Regions from separate parts of the Homo sapiens genome. Here region 2 is linked to region 1. The links are contacts of gene promoters, found by promoter capture Hi-C in blood cells and fetal thymus (Javierre and others, 2016). All regions are on one chromosome and are shown on one strand. Each heading gives the region's core, a stretch centred on a gene start or on the middle of the fragment in contact. The rest is flanking DNA. Distances are from core to core; before and after follow the strand shown.

What was found. Contacts are between HindIII fragments. The CHiCAGO score rates a contact against its expected background, and 5 or more counts as called.
Region 2: a contact is called between a fragment that was not itself captured here and the fragment with the promoter of SIRPD in region 1, in 3 of 17 cell types (activated CD4 T cells, naive CD4 T cells and non-activated CD4 T cells). The highest score is 5.8, in activated CD4 T cells.

What each region holds. Positions count from the first base shown.
Region 1 is chr20:1,555,194-1,561,418 of GRCh38, reverse strand. It overlaps SIRPD (signal regulatory protein delta), which reads left to right and starts at 3,714. Exons shown (of 4, transcript NM_178460.3): 1 at 3,714-3,838. The coding sequence starts at 3,766. It overlaps LOC107985409 (a long non-coding RNA gene), which reads right to left and starts at 3,412. Exons shown (of 3, transcript XR_007067493.1): 1 at 3,295-3,412; 2 at 754-874. It overlaps SIRPB1 (signal regulatory protein beta 1), which reads left to right. Exons shown (of 6, transcript NM_006065.5): 6 at 1-34. The HindIII fragment of the contact is 3,313 bases long and covers 1,737-5,049 here.
Region 2 is chr20:1,678,062-1,684,554 of GRCh38, reverse strand. It overlaps a transcript of SIRPG not described here. Among named protein-coding and RNA genes, the nearest start is that of SIRPG, 24 kb to the right of the region's middle. The HindIII fragment of the contact is 1,737 bases long and covers 4,104-5,840 here.

The DNA.
Region 1 (6,225 bases), core at 2,465-4,964:
AAGATCTAAATAAACTATGAACTTTGATTAATCATAATGTATCAATATTGGTTCATTGATTATAATAATGTATCATATCAATGTAAGATGCTAATGATAGGGCTCAATTTTTCTGTAAATCTAAAGCTGTCCTTAAAAAATTAAGTCTATTAGAAAAAATTAACGTCTTGTCCTCAGCTAGGTTTTATTTGCCTCTTGTACCCCGTGGGGAACAATGCAAGGAAATGTGCGGTAGGGAGACTTTGTTGATATTCCAAAGTTTTATCTCACTTCAAAAGCCTGAGGTTTCCTTTCCTCTCGTCCTTCCTCTGTCCACTACCAGAGCTCACCCCAGATCTAGGCACTCAGATCCCAGAGGAAGTGGCTTCTCAATCCCCCGTGATGCTCACCCTAAACTTTTCCCATTAGTAAAATCCAGGTCAGACCAAGTGGGATCAGAAAACTTTGGGTTATGTGGGTGAGCTGGGATAGCTTTGAGGACCTGACTATGAGTGAGTGAATAATGTCCTGAGCCCAAGTCTTCACAGGAACAAGTTGTTCCCATGAATTGTGTAATGGATGCTGAGAGGCACCTGGCTGTGGAGATGGTCCTCAGCATCAGCTCTATTTGCGATTGTCTCAGCTGAAGGGAGTGCCCTTGCTTAGGTCGTATCTGGTAACAAACCACATCTCATTGGACTCATCAACCTAGTCGTATAAAGGCCCAGCTCTCTTATCCTAACTCAGAGCAACTCTGGAGGAATATCCTAGTACCAGGCTCCATGCAAGGTCAGCTGAGGTCTTCAATGGGACTTCATTGCAGCCCAGCTTCTTCTTCTACCCAGTCCTGCTTCCATCTTCTCCCGTCCACAAGTGTTGATCCTAAAAGTACTCCCTGAAAGATAACCTGCTTGTTCATCTTCACCCCAGAGTCTGTCTCCCAGGGAACCCAACCTGGGACAGTGAAGCTATGCTACGTATCAGAAAGGTGGGGATCCCTTCATCTCTAAGGGAGCAAGTCAGTCACAGAAGAAAGCCTTGTTTATAGTACCTCCAGATTAATGAGAATCCACAAAAATGTTTATTCAAGAGAGGGACATAATTAAATCTATGTTGTAAAAAGACCAGTCTGGCTGAAGAAGGAGAAAGAGATTATAGGGGGCAAATAAAAATGGGGGTACCCTAGTGAGAAGGCAATTGTTCTTATTCAGGCAAGAGATGATGATAGAGATGGAGAAAGAGATTAATTCAGAAGGGATTTAGGAGGTAAATCCAATAGGGCCTGGTAGGGGCAAGATAGGAGTGTGAAACTATGCCCCCAAAGAGTTAAAGAAACCAGTCACTAAGAAATTCTTGAGTTTACAGGATAGCAGATAAGAAAAAAAAAAAATTGCTAAACTGCCGAAACTTCCTCCACTTGTAGGATAACAAAACTGACTAAAATCTGTTGGAACCAATATGGCCAACTGGAGTTTGCTCAGAATGAGCTTGCTGATGTCACAGCCTGAGTTTCTACCACGTATTTCATGATGACGCCCCAGGGTTTTGCACATGGGAGCCGTGAAGAGGCATAGAGAGATAACTGTACATGCCCAAGGACTTTCCAGACCTCCCCTTTCCTTTCACAAATCACATACTAATCCCAGAATCCAACCCCTAAACTTTTGCTAATAAAACTACTGCCTTGAAGCCAGCACATGGAGCTAGATTTGAGGTAGACTTCTGTCTTCCTGTTAGTCAACTTGCAATAAAAAGCTTTTCTTTTCTCAAAAGCCTGGTGTCACAGTATTGGCTTCTAGCACATCAGGCAGCAACCCCCTTTCACTTGGTAACAAGTGGATAAGTGAGGGTATAGAACATGAGTCCCTTCCTGGTTTGACAAACTGCTTAGATGATGGTACCATATACAAAACAGGCATGGTGTGGGAGAAGATAAGGTTTGTGAGTGCAGATCTGAAACTCAAACTTGAATATTTAAGGTATACAAAGAGGCCAGGCTCAGTGGCTCACACCTGAAATCCCAGCACTTTGGGAGGCTGAGGCAGGTGGATCATCTGAGGTCAGAAGTTCGAGACCAGCCTAACCAATATGGTGAAACCCTGTCTCTATTAAAAATACAAAAATTAGCCAGGCGTGGTGGTGGGCGCCTGTAGTCTCAGCTACTCGGGAGGCTGAGGCAGGAGAATCACTTGAACTCGGGAGGCAGAGGTTGCAGTGAGCCGAGGTCATACCATTGCACTCCAGCCTGGGCAACAAGAGCGAAACTCTGTCTCGAAAAAAAAAATACATATATATATATATATACAAATGAAGATGTCAAGAAGGTTGCAGAATATACAGGTCTGTATCATGGGCCCAAGATTACTCAGCTCTTAGGAGGTGCGTTCAGGATTCTAGCCTAGATTATATCTGATTCCAAAGCTGGCACTCTTGGATACTGACCCGTGAGTACTGACTCTCCAAGGAACTTAGAGTCTAATGAAAGGTGAGAAGATTCCTCAGAGTAGGGGAAGGGGAGGATGATGGAGGCTGGAGGAATGTTCCTGTCTAGTTCCAAGCAGGGGCCATGGATAGGAATTCCTTTGTGGAATTCATCATTTCAGAACAACGGGATAGGATGATGACATCACAAGGGGATGGGGACTCTTGTCGTCTCAGAGAGAACGTGCCAGCCTGGCTCTGCTTTCTTTTCCTAGAGGGTCTAACACCTCTCCCGGCCCTGACATCTAGCTGGTTCCTGAGGAGGAGGCAGAAGTCATGAGGAGGCAATGGGGAAACAGCCATGGCAGCCAGTGCCTGCCTGTGGATGCTTGGACATTAAAGGGTCACCAGCTGAGTGTGGGCTGAGTGTCCCTGAACACAACATTTGTGCTTAGGAAGAACCCATTCCAGAGCTGAGAGAGAAGGATGCCAACATGCTGCTTCCTCCCTCTTTCTGGGGGCATTTCTTCTGCCCCTCCAATCCCATCTCTGAGAGCTGGTCCCAGGTCCAGCCCAAGCAGGAGAGGCAGCCCTCACCTTCCCAGGTGTTTGTAGGCATGTTACTCTCCCTCCTAGAGAGTGTTCCCCGCAGCTCCGCCTTCCCTGCAGGCCTCCTCCATCCTCTAAAGCACAAATCATCACCACCTGCACAACTCGAATGTCTTTCTCAGCCATGCCTGATTCCTCTGCAGGAAGGAAAAAGGAAGCAGTTCCTGGTAGTGTATGGAGGGACCCACAGAAAAGCCAAGAGCCCACAGCAGATATTGCTTGTTTTTTACCTCTAACTACTCTGGAGTGCAAGAAAGGGCATCCATTGTAAAGTCCAACTCTTACCAAGTGGGTGAGGCTATAGACATCTTGTCTCTTTCTTCAGCTGTGCAGCTCAGACAGGCCCAGATGTTGAGCTCATGCAGGAGCTAGACCCATACCTGCGCATCATGTGGATGAGGCCTTTGTCTAGCCTATGTGTCTGAGGCTCCTAGATAGGCAAAGGCCATGAAGTTGGGGAGAACCTGTGAGATGGGATGAAACTCAGGAAGGAGTATAAGGCTGTGGGTGTCAAGCCCCCCAGCCCCAGCAAAGCTAAATACTTCCAGCAGCAACTTCCTAGCTTGAAGCAACCTTGTCTGTTCAATTTTATAATCACAAAGGAAAAAGTGTCCCAGTCCCCTGGCCTTTCCTCTCATCACAATCCCCTTCCTCTGACATCACAGAGGCAAGAACTGTCTTCTCTGCTCGGAGCACTGAGTCGAGGGCATCTCCAGGACAGGCATTCAGGCAGAGCAAGCTCCAGGTTTCACCACAATGCCCATCCCTGCCTCCCCACTCCACCCACCTCTGCCTTCCTTACTGCTGTATCTGCTGCTTGAACTGGCAGGTGAGTGGGGCCTCAGTGTATGTGTGTGGTGGGTTCTCCCCTCTGCCTGTTTAGTGAACTCTCCCTCACCTGTTCCCATAGAATTTCTTTTGGGAGGGTTTTCTCCATCTTATCCCAGAACAGGCAGAACTCAGAAGACTACACTGGGATGGTCCCCAATTCTGACAAAGTCTCCCGGTGGCCATGTCTGTTGCAAATCTCTTTGCTCAGGTAAACGACTCACACCTATGGTCACAGGGCGGGGCACAGCATCCATCACAGCTCTCACCCTCCAGCCTCTGGAGGGTGTAATTTATTTTATTTTATTTTTACCTTTACTTATTTTTTTGAGACAGGGTCTCACTCTGTCACCTAGGCTGGAGTGCAGTGGTGCGATCTTGGCTCACTACAACTTCCACCTCCTGGGCTCAAGTGATTCTCGTGCCTCCAACTCCCAAGTAGCTGGGACTACAAGCACGCGCCACCATGCCCAGCTAATTTTTGTCTTTTTTGTAGAGATGGGGTTTCACCATGTTGCCCAGGCTGGTCTCAAACTTATGAGCTCAAGAGTTCCACCTGCCTCGGCCTCCCAAAGTGCTCGCATTATAGGCGTGAGCCACCACACCTGGCCCCTGGCAGATTTTACACTTCTTTCTGTGAAATTCAGTTTTTTATTTCTCTGTTGCCACTGCATTTGGCTGCTCTTAAAAAGTACTGCAAACTGGGTGGTTTAAATTACAGAAATTAATTTTCTCACAGGTCTGGAGACTAGATATTCAAAATCGAAGTGTGGGCAGGGTTGGTTCTTTCTGAGGACTGTGAGGTTGAATCTGTTCCATGTCTGTCTCTGAGCTTCTAGCAGTGGTAGCCTCAAACATTTGTTGGATGGCAGGTGGCACCACCCTCCCTGTATCCTCACATCATCTTACTCCCATGTATGTCTGTCTCTGTGTCCAAATTTCCACTTCCTATAAAAACATCCACCATATTGGATTAGCACCCACCTCAATGACCTCATTTTAACTTGATTTCCTCTGTAACTCTATTTCCAAGTAAGGTCACATTCTGAGCTACTTGTGGTTAAGACTTCAACATATATTTCGGAGGCATACAATTCAACTCATAATAGCCTCAACATGAAATTTTAATAACTTAGATATATTCTTTGTTGGTTTATGTACTGCATTTATATCTGTCTGTGCTTTATACATAGGAAGGGTAACTATAAAGCTTCCTCTTTTTATTCAATGGAGAGTTAAGGATGACTAAAAATATTTAGGTAAAAGCTAACTTAAGATACTTAAAGCTAGTAAAACTCACTTGAATTTTTAACTGTACTTATTGGGTGAGGTACACAGACTGTAAGGTGACTCCCAACTATCCCACCCTTATGTAATCTCAGTTGTGTGTGACATGCTTCTATCTGATAGAATATGGCCAAAGTGATGCACTGTCTCCCCCTTGAGTATGTTAGGTTGTGTAAGATCTATCACACTAGAGTTTTTTTGCAACTTCTGGCCTTAAAGAAGCAAGGAGCCATGTTGCAAACTGCCTGTGAGAAGGCCCACATGGCAATGAACTGAGGGAAGCCCCTAGAAGTTGAGGGCCTCAGTCCTACAACCACAAAGACCTGAATTCTGCCAACAACCTGAGTGAACTTAGAATGAACACTTCCCCAGTCAAACCCCCAGATGAGAACACAGCCCAGCTGGCACCTTGAGTGGAGCTTGGTGAGACCTTGAAGCAGAGAACCCAGCTAAGCTATATCTGAATTACAAATGGACAAAAATTGTGAAATAATTAATATGTGTTGTATTCAGCCTCTAAGTTTGTCGTAATTTGTTATTCAGCGATAGAAAAGGAATATACCGAGTAAGATGGCAAAACCATTCAAAATAAAGTCCTCCATTGTTTTGTAGAACTTATTTGTTTTTAAAGGTGTACAACTTGATGGTTTTTTAAATTTTATCTTGGTTTTAATTGACAAATAATAATTGTATATATTTATGTGGTATAATGTGATGTTCTTATACATGTCTACACAGTGAAATGATCAAATCAGGCTAATTAACATATCCATCACCTCACATACTTATCACTTCTTTGTGGTAAGAACATTTAAAATCTACTCTTTTAGCTAGTTTGAAGTATGCATTAACTATAGTCACCATGCTGTGCAATAGATCACCAGAACCTATTCCTCATGTCTAACTACAACTTTATAGGCTTTGACCAGCATCTCCCATTTCCTTGTCCAACTCTCCACCACCCCAGACCCTGGTAACAACATTCTATTCTTTACTTCTTTGAGTTTGACTTTTTTGGATTCCACATATAAGCGACATTCCACATATAAGCAAGATCATGTGGTATTTGTCTTTCTGTGCCTGGCTTATTTCACACCATAA
Region 2 (6,493 bases), core at 3,723-6,222, 120 kb before region 1:
TGGATGACTTTTATGTGCCAAATATTTTACTGAGATTTTAACAGGTTTCATAATTTTATTTAATGCACAAAACATCTTTATATAGTATAAGGACAGAACAAACTTTTATATATATTTGTGAATGCATGTGTATATATGTATACATATATATATGTGTGTATAAGTGACTATAAGTGTACATACATGTACATAAGATTTCACATTTATTGTTATCTTTTTATTTGCAATGAAATGTCTCAGAAAAGAAATGTATTTTATTTTTGTTTGAGAAAAGCATATATACTTATCATGTACAACATATTATAAAATATGTGTACATGATTAATTTGAGCTAATTAACCTATGCATTACCTTACATGTATATCACTTTTTGTGGTGAGAACTTATAAACTCTGCTCTCTTAGCAATTTTCAACAATACAATTCATGTTATTCACTCTAGAAATCATATCGTACAATACATCTCTTAAACTTATTTCTCTTATCTAAACTAAAATGTTGTATCCTTTGACCAGTATCTCCCAACTACACCCCCTCCCCTGCCCCTGGTAACCACCACTCTAGTCTCTACTTCTTTTTTTTTTTTGAGACGGTGTTTCACCCTTGTTGTCCAGGCTGGAGTGCAATGGTGAGATCTCGGCTCACTGCAGCCTCCACCACCTGGGTTCAAGTGATTCTCCTGCTTCAGCCTCCCGAGTAGCTGGGATTACAGATGTCCGCCACCATGCCCGGCTAATTTTTTGTATTTTTAGTAGTGACGGGGTTTCACCATGTTGGCCAGGCTGGTCTCAAACTCCTGACCTCAGGTGATCCACCTGCCTCAGCCTCTCAAAGTGCTGTGATTATAGGCTCTACTCTCTACTTGTGTGAGTTCAACTTTTTTAGATTCAGTGTATGAGTGAGACCATGTGGTATTTGTCTTTCTGTGCCTGGCTTATTTCACTTAGCATAGTATCCTCCAGGTTGGAAATGACAGAATTTCCTTCTTTTGTAAGGCTGATTAGAATTTCATTGTGTATATATACCACATTTTCTTTCTCCATTCATCTGTTGATAGACACTTAGGTTGATTCCATTTTTGCTACTGTAAATAATGCTGCAATGGATATGGGTGCAGATATCGCTGTGACATGCTGATGTTACTTCCTTTGGATATACACCCAGAAGTGAGATTGCTGGATCTAATGATAGTTCTATTTTTAATTTTTGGAGGAAACTCCATACTGTTTTCAATAATGGCTGTACTAATTTACATTCTCACCAACAGTGGGTTGGATTCTCTTTTCTCCACATACTCTCCAATGCTACTTAAATTTCCTCATTTTGATAATAACCATTCTAACAGGTGTGAGATGATACCTCACTATGGATTTAATTTGCATTTCTCTGATGAATAGTAAGATTGGGTATTTTTTATATGCCTGCTGGCCATTTTAATGTCTTCTTTTGAGAAATGTCTATTCAGGTCTTTGGCCCATATATTAATTGAGTGAGTTGTTGCCTTATAATTGAGTTGCTTGAGTTCTTTATATGTTTTGTGTATTGACTCCTTATCAAATGTATAATTTGCAAATATATTTTCCCATTCTGTATGTTGTCTCTTCACTCTGTTGATTGTTTTCTTGGCTATGTATGTAATCCCACATTCATTTCTATATCCACGAGAAATGCACATGTAGAAGCTTTTTAGTTTGTTGTAATTCAATTTGTCTATTTTTGCTTCTGTTGTGTGTGCTTTTGGGCTGATATCTAGAAACTGATTGCCTAGACCAATGTTACAGAACTTTTCTTCTAGTACTTTACAGTTTCAGATCTTACATTTAAGTCTTTAATCCATTTTGAGTTGATTTTTGTATGTGGTATGAGATGAAGTTCCAATTTTATTTCTCTATACATGGATATCCAGTTTACTCAATAACATTTTTGAAGAGATTGACTTTTCCCTATTGTGTGTCCTTGAAACTTTTATCAAAGATCAATTAAGTGTAAATATGTGAGTTCATTTTTATGGAGTTGTCCCATATGGCATTTATTATGTTGAGGAACAATCATCCTATATGTAATTCATTGACAGTTTTTATCACTTAAAAATGTTGAATTTTTTCATATGCATTTTTGGGGCCTGTGTTGAGATGGTCATAGGGTTTTTGTCACTCATTCTGTTTATGTAGTGTGTCACATGGAGAGATTGCTGAATATCGACCCATCCTTACATTCCTGGGATAAATCTCACTTGACTATGCGAAACACACACAGGATTTTTAAAAGACTTTTCTTATTATTTCCTTCTAACCATTTCTTAGTCTATATGAAATGCACATTAAAGAGATATTTGGTTTTCCCTGTTGCCCACACTCTCTCTTCTTTTTTACTTCTCTGATCTTACCCCTCAAAGTCCCCCAATCTGTTAAGATAAGCAATAGATAAGCAAACCTCTTGGTAAAATGCATAGTCCCTCAAAATAGAACTTCCATGCATTACTCTATTAGTGTTCCCACTTTCATGAAGGGTAGGTGTGAGGAAGAAAGAAGTGGATAAAGTTGCAGAAACTTCGGCCTATAGCATCTATATCTATATAGTAACTATATCTATAGTTATATTAGTTATATCCATATCCATAGTCATACCTATATCCTCATCATCTAATGTCCATTGAAGCCTCCAAGCTTCAGGAAATCTACTGAGTAAAAACTTTATTTTATTTATTTATTCATTTTTTTGAGTCAAGGTCTCACTCTGTCACCCAGGCTGGAGTGCAGTGTTGCGATCTCAGCTCACTGCAACCTCTGCTTCCTGGGTTCAAGTGATTGCCATGTTTCTGCCTCCTGAATAGCTGGGACCACAGGGGTGTGCCACCACCCTCAGCTATTTTTTTATTTTTATTTTTAGTAGAGACAGGGTTTTGCCATGTTGGCCAGGCTGGTCTGAAACTCCTGACCTCAGGTATCTGCCCACCTCAGCCTTCCAAAGTACTGGGATTACAGGCTTGAGCCACTGTGCCTGGCCAACTTTATAATTTTTGAACACCCTCCATGTGGCAGACACTGTTGGAAACATCTTACAGCTCTTACTTTGGATGATCATTATATCCAAGGTAGAGATTCTTATCACCCCCTGCCCCCCACCACACACACACATAGATAAGGAAACAGAAGCACAAAGCATTCCAAGGTCATTCATTGGTAATTGGCAGAGCTATGATTTGAGCTCAGGCACTCTTAATCTAGAGATCACAGTTTTCACCATTACTCTTCCCAAATACTTCTGGCCCTGATTCTATTCCATGAGATTTCTGCAGCTGCTGCTAGTATGAGTGTGTGCAGGGGTGTGGTATGAGGAAGAGGATGTGTAGTTTTCTTCTCCTGGGCTCTTCTGCTTTCTGTATGATTGCAAATTGATTTTTTCTTCACCAACTCATCTACATGGGAAATTTATTTTCTCCAAATTCAACAGAAACAATCCATTTAAAATAAAAGATTTCAGTCTCTTAAGAAAGTATCCCACTGAGCAATTCACACATTATACACATATTTATTGGATATCTACTATGTTCCAGGACCTGACATAGAAATGTTGGGTGCACTGGTGAATAAAATAGAAAAAGTAGTTTCCCTTTTGTTCCTTATATCCACTGGAGAATGACAGTAACCAATACCCATGATAAGGAGGTAAATAAAATAGTAAATTAGACAGTGAATAGTAAATTAGATAGTGCCAAAAAAACAAGAAAGTATGAGTATATGACTTATAATTTTGAATGTTTTCATATATTCCTTTTATTGATTATTTTTGTCATAGAAAGATAGCCACATTTGTCAAAGGCTTTTCTGCATCAAATGGATAATCATGTGTTTTTCCCTTTATTCCATAAATATGGTACATTACATTGTTGTCATTTGTTTACTGAAACATCCTTGGATTTCAGGAATAACTATTATCTGCTCATGGTGTATTATCCTTCTACTATGCTATTCAATTCAGTTTGCTAGTATTTGGTTGAGTATTTTTGCATTAACAAACCTAGCAGTAATAATGCCAACTGTCAACAGAATGGTGTGCAGCTGGACCTGGCAGTGATTTTAATTTTGTGTTCTAGTGGAAGCTTAGTTTCCAATGCGCTTCATATCAGGTGAGCAAAGCCTGGATGTGGGACAATTTATGGTTAATGATTGCAACAGGAAAGTATGCCTTGTAGAACTGTACTCCAGACCAGGGGATCCCAGTAGGTAACCAGTCATTTGTTGTTTTAATGGAATATAGGATGAGGCCAAGAGGGGCATTGTTTCTGCATCAAAAGCCCTGGGGAAATTCATGGCCAACATGAGTGGTGAAGAGACTCCAACAGGCATGAAAGAAGTTGGCAAAATTTTTATAGAGAAGAGGTATTTTTGTTTGTTTGTCCGTTTGTTTGAAGGCACTAACAAGAGTATTGTTTTCGATGATGTGTAAAAGAATATGTTGCCACTAGCATTTAACAGAAACTTAAAGGTGTTGGATTATATGACATTAATACGTGTGTCAAATGAATCTGTTTTAAAGATGTTGTTATCAATGTAATGTCATCTCTGTGCTCCTGAAGAAAGGTGGATGCCATTATTGATATTGAGACATGATCCCCACTTTAGGATGGAGAGTCTTGGTAACACTCCCAAAAGGCAACACAAAGCTGAAGAAAGCAGAGTACAAGAAAGCCATCAGGGTAATAGCATCTCCCAAATGGTTGAGCCAATCAGAGTAGCAAATTAGCAAGCCATGAGCATTCAAAGGGAATCTCCTAGGAACTTTCCACCCTAGTTTAGAATGATCCCATTCTCATTGCCATTAGTGTTGAAAATGGTAGAGTAAGTCCTGCTGATTGGGTCTATAAAGAACACTCTAACATGACTGTGAAAATTTCATTTGGAGAGACATATGAAGATGAACAATTTATTCTACTCATAGTTCCCAGAGAGTGGGGTATGGCATGCCAGGTAGGAAGCCATATGGAAGGAGCTTCCGTGAAGCAGGCTCAACCAAGCAGATGGGGAAGCAAGACAGATTGGAACCCCAGGCAAGTGTCTTACTGGGAGTTAGGGTGGAGGACACAAAAACCATGATGGATTCACTGGTATGTTTTAATGCCACTACTCTACTAGGTCACAGCAGAGGAGGACAAAAAGGGGAATTGTGGCAGGGACCAGCTTTATCACACTGCTGTACCTGGTCATTTGGTAGGGTGCTCACAGCTTGTTTCAGGGATGTTGAGGCATCAGGAAAATATGAATTTTTTAAATGTACACCTAACTGGACATCTTTATTTCCTCATACAATTTTGAGTGCCATGTAGCATCCTTTCATTTCCACCCAAAGCACTCCTTTTAGCGTTTTTGTAGGTAAGGTTTAGTGGTCATAAACTCTCACCACACCAGTTGGGTGTGGTGGTGGGTGCTCATTTTCATGACCTGATGCCACCCCTTCTACAGATCAGGGAAGTTTGGGCCTGGAGACATCGTGCTATTCACGCAAGGATCCATGGCTGAGGATTTATCTGAGAATATCTTAATTTCTCCCTTGTGTTTGAAGGATGTTTGCCAGGTGTAGAGTTCTTGGTTGATAGGTTTTTCCTCTTTCAGCATTTTAAACATATCATTCCTCTGTCTTGTGGCCTCCAATGCTTCTGATAAGAACTCAGCTGATAATCTTACAAGGATCTCTCGCGTGAGAGGAATCGCTTCTCTTTTGCTGCTTTCAGAATTCTTTCCTTGACTTTAATTGTCGACAGTTGGATTATAATGTGTCTTAATGTGGGTCTCTTTGACTTTATCGCTGAGTTAAATTTGGGTTTCCTTGGCACCTTAAGCTTGTAGATTCATGTATTTTATCAAGTTTGGGAAGATTTTGTTCATGATTTCTTCCAATAATCTTCTGCCCCTTTCTCTTTTTCTCTTTTCCCCCAGAACTCTAGTAATGTGTATTTTTATCGATTTGATAATGTATCATCATTCCCTTAGATTCTATTATCTTTCATTTTTGTTGTATCTATACCTCACTGTCAATAATTTCAATGATTTCATCTTCCAGTTTCTTGATTTTTTTCCCACCTGCTCACTTGTTAGAGAACCTCTTTAATGAACTTTTAGTTGTAATACTTTCAACTCTAAAGTTCTCGTTTGATTTCTTTTTATAATTTCTCTTTGTTACAGTTCTTATTTTGTTACTGTATCATAATCCTGAATTATTTTAGTTGTTTGTCTATTGTTTCCTTTAGCTCTTTGAACGTGTTGAAGACAGTGGTTTTAACATCTTGGTCTAGCATCAGGGTGGGCCCACAGTGTATCACATGAGTCCTTATAAGAAGGAGGAGGCAGGAAATTAGGAGTTAGAGAAGCACATGTGAGGATGCAAGCCAGAGGCTGGAGTGATGGGAAGACGTAACTATGAGAAAAGAAATGTTACCAGCTTCCAGAATTAGTAAAGGCAAAGAACAGAGACTCCAGAAAACATAGCTGTTTTTT